2 separate regions of the Homo sapiens genome follow, and region 2 is linked to region 1. The links are contacts of gene promoters, found by promoter capture Hi-C in blood cells and fetal thymus (Javierre and others, 2016). All regions are on one chromosome and are shown on one strand. Each heading gives the region's core, a stretch centred on a gene start or on the middle of the fragment in contact. The rest is flanking DNA. Distances are from core to core; before and after follow the strand shown. Region 1 holds the start of TESHL (testicular germ cell expressed HSF2 interacting lncRNA). Region 2 overlaps DIRC3 (disrupted in renal carcinoma 3).

The links. Contacts are between HindIII fragments. The CHiCAGO score rates a contact against its expected background, and 5 or more counts as called.
Region 2: a fragment that was not itself captured here is called in contact with the fragment with the promoter of TESHL in region 1 in 5 of 17 cell types (M2 macrophages, M0 macrophages, endothelial precursors and 2 more); the score reaches 8.2 in M2 macrophages.

Annotation. Positions count from the first base shown.
Region 1 is chr2:216,868,480-216,874,878 of GRCh38, forward strand. It overlaps TESHL (testicular germ cell expressed HSF2 interacting lncRNA), which reads left to right and starts at 2,293. Exons shown (of 2, transcript NR_130782.1): 1 at 2,293-2,501; 2 at 2,977-3,160. The HindIII fragment of the contact is 5,034 bases long and covers 1,426-6,399 here.
Region 2 is chr2:217,695,615-217,701,530 of GRCh38, forward strand. The region is part of intron 2 of DIRC3 (disrupted in renal carcinoma 3); the gene reads right to left. It also overlaps the pseudogene LOC100533848. Among named protein-coding and RNA genes, the nearest start is that of DIRC3, 92 kb to the right of the region's middle. The HindIII fragment of the contact is 3,270 bases long and covers 2,030-5,299 here.

The DNA of each region.
Region 1 (6,399 bases), core at 1,043-3,542:
AGGGGTAAAGTTTTAATCCTAGTCTTCTGTCCTAAGTGAATAGTGAATGACTGCTGAGTAGATGCAGGAGCAGGAAATAGATGTGAACAGAAAAAAACTGGTTTTAGTTTTGCATAGGTTGAATGTCTACCAGAGAGGTCCCCAAGGATGCCCTGTAGACAAATTGGATAGAGGCATCTGTAGCTCAGAAGAGCAATTGAGGCTGGGGATGTAGTTTTGGGCACTGGCAAGGTAGAGTTTTGTGTGGTTGAATCTCCAGGGGCAGGTAAGATGCTCTAGAGACAAAGTTATGGGATTTATCAGCCATTGGGTGTTTCAGAGGAGAGAGCAGGGCAAGGAGACCGAGAGAACAGAAGAAAACTCAGGAAAGAATGGGGTTGAAAGTAAGGCATGCAAAACTGGAAGCTGCGACACTTGAGGTGGTCAGAGCACTTTTAGGGGACCTACTAAGCGCCAGGCACTGTGTGACCGCTTGAGGGAACCTCATCTCATTTCTCTGTCCTTACCTTAGGTGACTCCTGCAGAGCACCTGACAATCAGAGAAGAGTTAGAATACATTAAGCTCAGCATCACATATGTAGTTTGAATACAACTCCACCTCCTTCTCTTTCTTTCTCTTCTTTCCTGCCTTTGTTGCCCTACCCAGGATTAAAACCTTAGGTCTTATGTTAAAAGAATGACAAGAGAACTGTAGCATTCTCTGCCTCTTGGGCATCTGCAAGAGGTGGGATATTAGAGGGACACTGGGGGATGCTTGGATGATCACCTCCACCCCTCCACCCACTATGGCCTCAACATGAAGTTGGCCTTCTTGAAGTGGGTGAATCACTACAGCCCTTGTTCAGGAAGTGTGTTTGAAACCAGGCTTTTAAGGAAGAGAGGAGACGACATTTCTTGGGACCTTCCTGCCAACCTGACCCTTCTGGTTGGCACCACCCAGAGCTTCATTACTTAGGCCTGAAGCCCAGGTGTGTTGTTGGGCTCTTCCCCCTTTATGAGGCCCATGTTTCCATGATGCCAGGTGGCAGCCCTTCATCAGCCTTTGGACTACATCACTGTGGAGGTGGCTGGAGTCTCTTTTTTCATGCAAACTGCTGCCCAGTGAAACAAGATGTAGACATTTTGACTACAGCATTTCAATTTCCATATCCCCATCCCCAACCCCAACCTGGCTTTTTAGCCATGTCCTTCATTATTTCCTTCAGGCAACCTCTGTTCTAACCAAACTGGGTTATTTAAAAAGTAGAAAAAGTACAGGTCTTCATAGGAAATTCAGTGATTTGTACTATTTTTTTCATCTTCACCTATTAAACTTCCAAATGTGCTTCAAGACTCAAAACAAAGGCCCTATACTCTATGGTTACTTCTTCATTTGGTCACATTTTATATCTACCAGTAGAAGATGGCTTCTCTGGCCAGATATCAAGCTTCTTGAAGTTGAAGCTATATTTCTGTGGGGCTCTAGGGGATAGGGCAGGGGTAGTAGATTTAAAAAATGAACTGGACTAGAGCTTTAATTGTACTTTTTATCTTGATTTGTAGTAATGGTTTATGGGTGTATACCTAGGTCAAAACTTATCAAATTGTACACTTAAAATATGTGCAGGTTATTGTTTATCAATTATACTTCAATAAATTCACTTAAAAAGTGTACATTGTTCAAATCCTCCCTCAAGATCTCTTTCTAGAAGTAAGGCAATGAAACCAGGAATGTATGCCTAAATGTGTCAGCAGACAAAGGCTTTAAAAATGCTAGACTTGGAGATCAAAATATGCTACATGTACAATAAGAGCTTCTATAATTGTATATATGCCTTTCATGTATTTTCCCCTCAAGATTATCAACTGTGTGTTTGACAGTGAATATTAAATATGTTACCAGTTGAAATTTTTGGTTATAAATGTAATACGAATTGTTTCACAAACAAAACATGTAAAGCAGTATTAAAATTTGGCCAAACAAGTGTTCTGTATCTACTTTAATAAATGGTTATTCTTTAAAAAAAAAAAAAAGCTAGACTTGGGTTTGAAAGGCATAGAGAATTTTGCTTGGTTTCTGTAATTCTTGGGGGTTCCTATGGGCTGGCTGATAGGCAGCCAGCTGATTTAAGGAGTCCTACTAGGCATTTTCTTAATTTTATCCAACATTTCAGTACTGCCCCAACCACTCAACCAAGCTCTCATGTTGACTTTCAGCCATTGTGACAAGGCACCATCAATCATCATGTCCCTTTACCAGGAGGGCCCGTGTCATAAGCCACTATATAAAGGGAATGATGGGTGGACTGCTTTGGACAAATGGACCTGCGGTAGGAGAGAGGGACAACAGTAGGAGCAGGCAGATCTTGCTGTTTCAACCAAAACCTCATGCTGACCAGAGTTGAGGAACAGAAGAAGATGGTGAAGGCCTGCAGGTATAGGTGTTCAGCATGTCATCTGAAATATTCCCCACAGAGGCAAAAAGAAAGGAAATTATCTCTGAAAAGGAATGGGAGGACAAGGTATTGATGACATTTTCTGATTACAGAGGAGACTCTCAGGACTGAGGAATTGTCACCCATGCTTGGCCAATCTCCCAAACTGTCATGCCTCTGGCAAAAGCAAAGATCACCTCTCACCTTCTAAAGACTGGCCCCAGTACTTCTCTAACAATCCCTTCCCTCACCGACACCCACCCACCAATAAAAAACAACCACCCAACTCTCTCCCTGCTTCCCCACAAGTCCTGTGAAGAGCCAGGCTTTCTGTGCTCATGGCTTGTCTTCTTTGTGCTGTAGAGCCTCCCTCTAATCTTGTCCATGCAGTAAAGAGAGATCACACAAACCCTGGACCTACCTCTTTGAGGTGGTACTCTCAAACTCTTTGAAGGTCTGTATTTGATGGAATCTCTGGGAAACTGAGTTGGGAAGGTCCCTATATGAAAAACACGTGGGTTCTTGGAGTGTACATCTTTAATTTTCTTATTTGTCTCTTTAGTCAGCAGAATATGTCAATGTTTTGGTTGAAGAAGCTGCTTGAATCTGGGCTTTTCTGTGCCATGTGTTCTCCCAGGGCCAGCACAAAGAAGGGCTTTTGGTGCAGGCCCAAGACCACCATAATCATCATTGATTATTCCTCTCCACGCCAGTGTCTCTAAATAAACTTTCTCTTCTTTCTCTGACAAAGGTGTTTTTGAGTGTTACTGTTTAGCTGAAGAGTGACGTTGAGTGACCTTAGTACCCTAGCCCTTCATGTAATCAGATGGGTGTTGTAAGCAGAGGGAGAACCATGTGAGTCAGGAGGAAATATGTAGTTTACCCTTTTTTTCCTGTTTGAAAGATTTACTATGATGTTCATGGTTGGGCTTTTGTTTGGGATAAATTGAGATGCTTTCTGGATATGATAAGGGCTTATTTGGTTTGATAGACCGTCTAAACAAGGCCAGTGCAGGCTGAGCCAGGTGAACCACCAGATCACCATCAGCTCACACTTCTCATTCATTTGTTAGCAGAAATGAAGATGCTTGTTTTCCTAGAAACAAGCCCAGGTCATCCATCATGAAGTCCAGGAATTGTAAATGTGAGGAAGTGCAAAGACACAACGTACACTTACAAAGGCATATGTGCATTTGGAATTCTTTAAAGGACAACATCCTCGAGCTTCTCCTGGTAGTATACTCTAGATATAACGTAGTGTTTGGGCAATTTGGGATCAAATAATTCTTACAGCTTTATAGAATCCCTTGTGTAATTAAACTTGAACCTTGTATAACTTATGTAAAGGTACCAAATCATCTCTTACTCACAGCTTGCCTCCCCCTGAGAATCATAAATGCAATCTTTAAAAACCATTTACCAGCAAGACCAAAGCTAATCTGTAAGGTTGGGGCCTCAAAACTCAATTCTCTATTTCCTTTGGAACATGAAAGATGCAGAAACTGCCTTTTTATTGTTCATCTGACTTAGGTGGGCCCCAGGGTTTTGTCCTATTTCCTAGATGTTGATGAGCTTCTTGGGTTTCTTTGATGATTGCTTTTGCTCTTCAGTGGTCACATTTGGCCTTACTCAGTGTAGGGGTGTGGAGAGGTGGCAATTTATTGCTTAAAGATGTTATAGCAGGTGTTCCTGGGCGCAAGAGCAGAGTGTCCTGAGGTAGTGTATGTAGTAATAATACAAGTCGCTCTTGTGGTAGCAGGCTGTAGTAATATAGCTATATCATTGGATATAAGCATGTATTATGGTAGTAGGCCGTGGTAACGGGTTACAGGCACCTCTGGTAGTAACAGGCTACAGTTAATGGGTTATAAGTGTGTCTGGCAGTAGTAGGCTGTAATAATGTTGTGCATACACTGGCATAATCTCAGGGAGAAGGCAAAGGCAAAGAGGTCAATAGCCTTCCCTGTGTCATTCTGGTGCTGTCCTCCATGACACCCTCACTATATTTGCTACATTTACATAGGAAATGTTTTACTATTGAATAAATGCCCATGTGCCAGGTCCTGTTCACATGTCCATGTACTCCAAGAAATGTACATATAGTAAATATAGTCTAAGACATATAGTCCAGGAGAAAACCAGAATAAATTTAACAGTGCCAGGAGATCCATCACATGTTCAAACTTGAAACTTAGAAGAAAATTTTGAAATTGATAATTGTGGAGAACTTCAGGATGTGAAATATTTGAATCTTCTGTCTAGGGCGTTCAATATTTATTGATGAAAGTCTTGTATGAGGTAAGTAACCATGACCCAAGTTATAACTTACAGCAGCTTTTGTGAGTTATGCGAGGTGATAGGGCCACTTGAGAGAGCCCCTACAGAGTTATAGGGCCAGATAGCAGATGTTTTATTCTTTGCAGGTGAAAGCAGCCATAGTAAGTGAATAGCTCTGGCTTGTTAACTTTGCTGGATTTGGCCTGCAGACTGCAGTTTGTCAGGCCCTGCACTACAGATTGTGGAATCATCATTTCATTTATCTCAGTTGCAGCATCGAGGTAATCAGGGTCCTGATTTCATAATTGAAACAGGTGGAATGATTAACCTGCTTAAGATCATACAGCTTAGGATGTGCTTGAGTTAAGACCCAAGTCAGAGTGGTGCTATTATACCTTCAAAAAAGTCACACAAAGGAAGAGGTAGGTAGAGCTGGCCGGCAGGGTTCTATCTACCCTCATATTCCTCCAGCCCCTGGGAGGTTAAATCCTCCTTCTTTGGGTCTCATCTAAGTGTCAGCATTATGCTTCCTTTTCCTAAGAGGTTCATTCACCCTTTGTGGTACCTTGTTCCTTCTACTCAGGGCCTTCTTCCTCTTTCTGGATGCCTTTCTGCAGTAGGCTATCTTTATACTTGTCTTGATGGGACTGGTAATTTTAGATTTCTGGTAAAAGGGTCTTTTAAGGAGCATAGGGAAGTAGGGCTAGAGGACAGAACCACTAGTTCTAAGCCAGATGCTACTCAGGCAGTTAAGTCAGTGACAGGAGGAGGCAGCTATTGGGTCAGTGCTTTGTATGATGCAGTAAGGGTCATAATGTTACAGCCACCATTATCCTTTATACCTCATCATATCAGGTGCTGAAACTGGTCCCAAATTAGAGAGCATAAGTTTGTGAATTTGAGTACAGTCCCTCTTGCTCACTTACAGCTCATGACCTAACACTTTTCTCTAGTCTTTCTGCTTTTCAAAATTTTATAGTTGCCCATTATGGTGCACTTCCAATACATTCTCCAATAACAGAAGATAACTCTCATAACTTATGTCCAAACTGGTGGCTCAAGAGCCAAAACGGCCCACAAATATGTTTTCTTTGACATCCTATGCAGGCCAATATGGAGTGAGCAGAAAACATTTGGATTAGTTGCCACCATGGAAAAGAGCTTTCATGTAAAATCTAGATATTTGACATCTTGGTTGCTCTTAAAAATGTGCAATGTCTATCAATACTGGATTTTAACTGGCTTGAGCTCAGAAGCATCTTTCGGAAGAGGCACGTACACGTCAATTTGTCTATCTCCACAAATCCTTACTTTATACTACCTGCCTGAGCTCTGAAGACATTTGATTTTGTAACCTCTGTCCTAAACTTTTGGTAGCTAGCACTACCAACTCTGTTGGTTCCATTGCTCTCTTGCCCACAGTTATCAAACAGTAAAGAGGACAGTTTGATATTCTAGGCAGGGGATCCAAGGACAAGCATCTGGAATTGTATACAGGGCAACCTTCTTTTTGGATCTTTATTCAGATCGCTGGGACCACACATTATCAAGCCTACCTTGTTGCTAGCCTCAGAATCCCTTCTTTTTCCTGAAGAATAGTTTGAAATCCATGAGGAAATTAAAGGAATTATAACCACAGAGAAGAGAATCAGTTGTCTGTCTGGATGTGACTTGGGCTCCAAATTGGGACAGAAGACTCATAACACAT
Region 2 (5,916 bases), core at 2,415-4,914, 830 kb after region 1:
GACGTAGTAAGAATTCAGGGTACACAGCCTTAATGAACAACAATGTGACAACTTTGCATCTACAGTCACAAGATGAAGGAAGGTTACCTACTCTTTGACAACCTACAGATTACTGCTTACACTTCAAGAACATTGCTGGTTTGTTGTTGTTGTTGTTGTTGTTGTTGTTGTTGTTGTTGTTGTTTGAGATGGAGTCTCGCTCTGTTGCCCAGGCTGGAGTGCAGGGGTGCCATCTTGGCTCACTGCAAGCTCCACCTCCCGGGTTCACGCCATTCTCCTGCCTCAGCCTCCTGCGTAGCTGGGACTACAGGCGACGGCCACCAGGCCTGGCTAATTTTTTGTATTTTTAGTAGAGATGGGGTTTCACCATTCACAGGATGGTCTCGATCTCCTGACCTCATGATCCACCGGCCTCAGCCTCCCAAAGTGCTGGGATTACAGGCCTGAGCCACCGCGCCGGCCATTGCTGGGTTTTTAAATCTACATTATTGTTGGGCTCACCCTGCCCACTGACACCATTACCATCTTGGTTCATCAACTTGGACACAGACATAATTCCCTCATTGCCTTAGCTTATAAGAAAGCTGAAAGTGACCTTATGAACCAGTGTGCCACAAGAAGGACAGACTGGTGAACAAGCCACTTGCCATGTACTCTCCTTTCACATTGGCTTCACATGAGGCCTGGGAGCTTCTGTTGTGTATCTCACCATTTATGCCCAGGAAGAGTTTAGACCCAGTGCTCTCATTGACCTCTGGGTCAAATGGGAAAAGAACAGCATGAATGACTAGGAAGACAGTATGGACAAGAATGGGCAAGATGCCAGAGGAGATACCAAAAAAGGACAGACTACGCAGCCACCCTCAGTGGCATTCTGATCCAGCAAATAGTCTAATAGGGCATCAGAAAAACTCAAGCAATCTCATCTTCCAGCAAGGTCTTTTCAGAAATAAAGCCATCGAGGTAGAGATTGACTTACAGGTTATCATAGCATTAATACTCTCCCACTGGGAGTGTCAAAGCCCTGAATTTCACTATGCTCAAAATTGGTTTGTAGAAATGCCACATGACATTCTTATTTGGGTGTATAATGATATGAAAACTTTTCATCAGGCTTTACTGTGGAAGCTGTTGGGATAATATACCACTAAGACCATCTTTTTTCCCAAGTTCCCCAAATTCACATTGATAAAGATTTTCATCTGGTCGCTAGCTACAAGATCTCTTGTGCAAATAAGGACATCATCAAAATTCATTCCAGGGGAAGACAAAAACTGTATGAAAGGTACTCAATTGACATTTTGTACTTTATAGCTGAGGTTTGACTATTTATAACTTTTATGTCGATCTCCATCTCCTGTTTTAAAATATGTGAATTTCAAGTGATGATGTTCATGCATTCATAAGAGTCCATGATACTAAATAGCCTTGCATAACCCAGTTATCTTCTGGGGTCCTCCTACACCTGAAGGTCTAGATAGGATTCCTCAAACCTCCATTCTACATGCTATTGAAGGTACAATTCCTTCCCCAAGATTTCTATGAATTCCTGTGGAAATTGGTTACTTTGCTGAAAAATTCAGCTCAAAGTTTGCAGGAAATGAAAGTAGGGGCAGGGTCACATCATAAGAACATAGACAACCTCCACTTTGACTCTCAGATATTGCTCTGGCACAATTTCCCTGGCCACATCACCCCTCACCCTAACCTATTGCCAACTCACCAGTCTTTTCTTGCATTTCCTCCTCCCATCTTCTCTTTTCTTCTCCCTCCCATATTGCCCTTCACACCTACCAGTAGAATTCCAACTTGGCTTTCTCCAACTCTTGTTCCAAGACTGAGCTCCAAGTCTACTTTGAGTATCCTAACTCAAGGTGTTCCACTAAACAAAAGGATCTTTGATTTACCAGGAAGCCACTGTGGTTTGAAATCGTAATATTTATTTATTGTAAAATATTTTTAGCACGGATTTTATACTGATCATGTTTCATGTGTGTGGAACACACGTCTATGTTGACAGGCCCAGGGAAGCTTCATTTTAAAGTAAAAGACATTTTATAAAACAAACAAACCCTAAAGACACAAAATGTTAAGTGACATTTAAGGTCCCTTAAATGTCAGAGTTATGGTTAATGTTAAGGTTCAGGGATCAGAATATCTCTAAATGACTTCTAATGTATCTTCTCAGTTCTAATTTTCCATCATTCTAGATCATGTACCATGATGCCCAATTAGGAGCATAGAAAAGGCTTCATGGGGCAGGTGCATCTGCGCTAGACCAATCCATCTGGACTAGACTTGCAAAGATAAGGAAGACAAGATTTAAAGAAAAGTTTAATTGATTTCATTTTCCTTTGAATGAATCTGTAGACTACAAGAAATCAATATTGGGACTTTGCTGTTTCTGAGGCATTCTCAATTATCTTTCATCCTTTATTACCTGCAAAATTAAAAGATTCTACTGCAAAGGCCTATCCTTCTGTCTTTCTTTCCTTTGAACAGTGTTGATCGAGGGCCTTCTCTGTTTTACGCAGTATGCTGCCACTGAAAATACACAAGACAAGTAAGATAGAGCCCACCAAGGAAGGAGTTCAAGTTCAATAGGAGAAATAAACAAGGAAACAAGTATAATTCATGCTCAGACCTTCTCTCGCAGTTCCTGCAGCCCAGCCACAGGCTCTGGCCTCTCTCATTCTATTGCAGGTACAACACACAGCCCCTTCTCTGGCACATCTACCCCATGGCCATGCCCACAAACCATTCGGTTATTTTTAATAACTTATATTAAGCCTTTCAGGAGACAGGATCACCCCCCCCCAACCCTGCCAGTCTCTTCTACCTCTTGGCTGCCCTTCACTTCTTTCTCTTTTTTCCTCTCCTTACTCCCCTTTCTCAGAAGCAACACAAATTTCCCTACTTATCCTACACATAGCAGTTCTGAGGGCATCTTTTATCACAGCCTTCAGCTGAGCATGCCCTTGTGTGTCACCCTCCCCCATAGTGACTCAAAATCTTTCTTCAAAATAAATACAGGACCCTCCCTAAAAAAGTTCTGGAGAGGGAGGGAAGCGGGCCTCCATCTGTGCTCAGACCACAGAGCTGCACTCAGAATGGAATGGGTCCTGTCCGGTACAAGATAGAAGAGGCAGCCTGGGTGGGAAATAATAAAGAGAATTCTGGTGGATGCAGTGGATTTCTTGTTCTCAGCAAGACCATTCCAGAAATGTAGGGAGTTGGCCCATGGGCTCGCCAATGTTTGGGTTATGTTTCAACCTTGATTGAGCACCAGAACTGTGCACAGTGCCAACTCCCAAGTGCTTTGAGGAGGGCTGGGTACATCATGCTTCTCTGTTTTTGTTTTTGGGTTTTCCCCCCATGTGCCTGGGATGTTTCTTCCATTAAAACCAGGACTTTTCCTCCCTCTGCGCCTCCACACAGAATCCAGCCCAAGCCAATCAATACCCCTAGGACATGCTAAATCTATTTTAGTGCCAAAAAATATAAATAATTTATTTGAAAAAATGCTGATAACTCCACAGAGAACTTTTTCATGCGCTGTGTCATTTCACTCCAAATTCCTTAATGAGAAGGGGGTCTCTTGCTCAGTGGTGACACGGCAATGCTAGGCTGTTTCTTTAGACATTTCTGCCTAGAAAGAGAAGGAAGACCCCTGAGCACGAAGCAGGTTCTTCCCACAACGTGGTGTGGGAGTCTCTGCTTCTCCTCCTCTGACATACAGCTCTTCCTATGTCCTTCTTATACACAGGATCTGCATCTCAATTCAGAACTCCAGATGTGGTCTCTCCAGCAGACAAGCATTCTTGCTAAGGTATCCTAAATAGAACATTCCAGAAAAACACGATTATTGTCTTCAAAGAGACCTGTCATGTAAAAGATGTATTAAATTTACCCAGCACTATGTCAGAAGAGAAGAATGAAAACGATAGGGGCTGCTAGAAGGCAAAAACATAGTCATTGTGTAAAAAAGGCTTTTAAACCAAAACTAGAATTGAGCTATTCTGAACACCTGAAGTTAGGTATTATCTCAGCTTTGGTCTCCTCAATATCGATTCATAGCATTGATTTGCACGGGGTATTAGAATGTCCTGGAGAAATAACTTGATCCATGGCCAAACTTGGGGTTCAGACACAGAAATAAGCATGATTAATTTGAAGTGTGTAGATAGAACATGTTAAGAGAAGCTCTATTTCAAGGGCAGCAGAAAAGGAGAATCTGTAATGGAGGCAGGAAAATACTGGATTGCGGGACACAGCCCCAGACCTAGGCATCAAGGCTGAGAGTGGAAGTTCTGGGAGAAGCAAGGTGGTGGACTTGCTTTAATCCACTCCAGTCCCAGGGACCCTAATGGCATGAGCATCCCATTGAAAGGAACAGGTCTTGTGTATACATTAAAATAGCCATGATAGCTAAGGACTCAAGCAATTCCTCAGAGAGAACCACAGAAGAGTAGCCTAACAGGAAAAGGAAACCATTTCTATCCTGGCTGGAAAAAATTATCATCAAGTAGCTTGGAGCAACAGGGAGTATGTCAGTTGTCTAGGGCAGAAAGGCCCTGGCACAAGATACAGAACAAGTGCAAGTTCATAGACAGAGCCTGGGACCCAGCCACTGGGACATCAGAACTACTGGCCCAGAAGACAGTAGTGGCCCCAGCTCCAGCAGTGGCTTGGCAGATTCAGACATCCATGTGAGGTAGCCCTTATGGATTTTCACAGAGGAAGTGGGGAGAGTCCTCTCATAACCATCATTATCACAAGGACCAAAATCCTGAAGCCACACAGAGGAAGGTCACTGATATGGTTTCACTATGTCCCCACTCAGATCTCACCTTGAATTGTAATTCCCATAATCCCCATGTGTCAAGGGCAGGACCAGGTGGAGGTAACTGAATCATGAGGGCAGTTTCCCCCATGCTTTTCTTGTGATAATGAGTGAGTCCCACGAGATCTGATGGTTTTATAAGCATCTAATATTTCCCCTGCTTACTCTCATTCTCTCTCCTGCCACCTGTGAAGAGGTGCCTTCCACCATGATTGTAACTTTCCTGAGGCCTCCCCAGCCATGCAGAACTGCGAGCCAATTTAACCTCTTTTCTTTATAAATTACCCAGTCTCGGATGTTTCTTCATAGCAGGGTGAAAATGGACTAATACAGTCACCAAACTATCAAGTTTTGTGTCTGCGTATTTTTAATATTTTTCTAAGGTCATAATTACCAAGGAATAATTTCATACAGTAAAATGTACCCTTTTAGAGATACAATTTACTAATTCTCACAAGCTTGTACAGTTGTAAAATAACTCCTACAATCAAGATACAGAACATTTCCATCACCCCAAAAACATCCATTCATACCTCCTTGTATTCAAAAGCTCCCTTCATTCCCAGCCCCTGGCTACCACCAAGTTTCTTTGTAAGTATATGTATATATTTACAAAAATGTATGTGTATACACACACACACACACATATATATACACATACATATACACACTCACACATGTACACATTTGTCATTTCTTCCAGAATGTCATATAAATTAAATCAAAACCTATATAGCCTTTTGACCTGAGTCTGGTTTCTTTTGCTTTGATAAGGCATGTGAGATTTATCTACACTAATGCATATGTCAGTAGCATGTTCTTTTTCTTGCTGTACTAGTATTATTCCACAGTATAGACATACCACTGTTTGTGAATTCCCCAGCTGATGGACATTTGGATTGTTTCCAATTTTTAATGATTATAAAGGTATTTGTATACAGGTTTTAATATGGAAATATGTTGTCACTGGGTAAATACCTAGGAATGGGACTGCTGGACCATATGGTAAGTATATATTTAACTTTATAAGAAACTGCCAAACTATTTTCCAAAGTGGCTGGCCCATTTGGCAT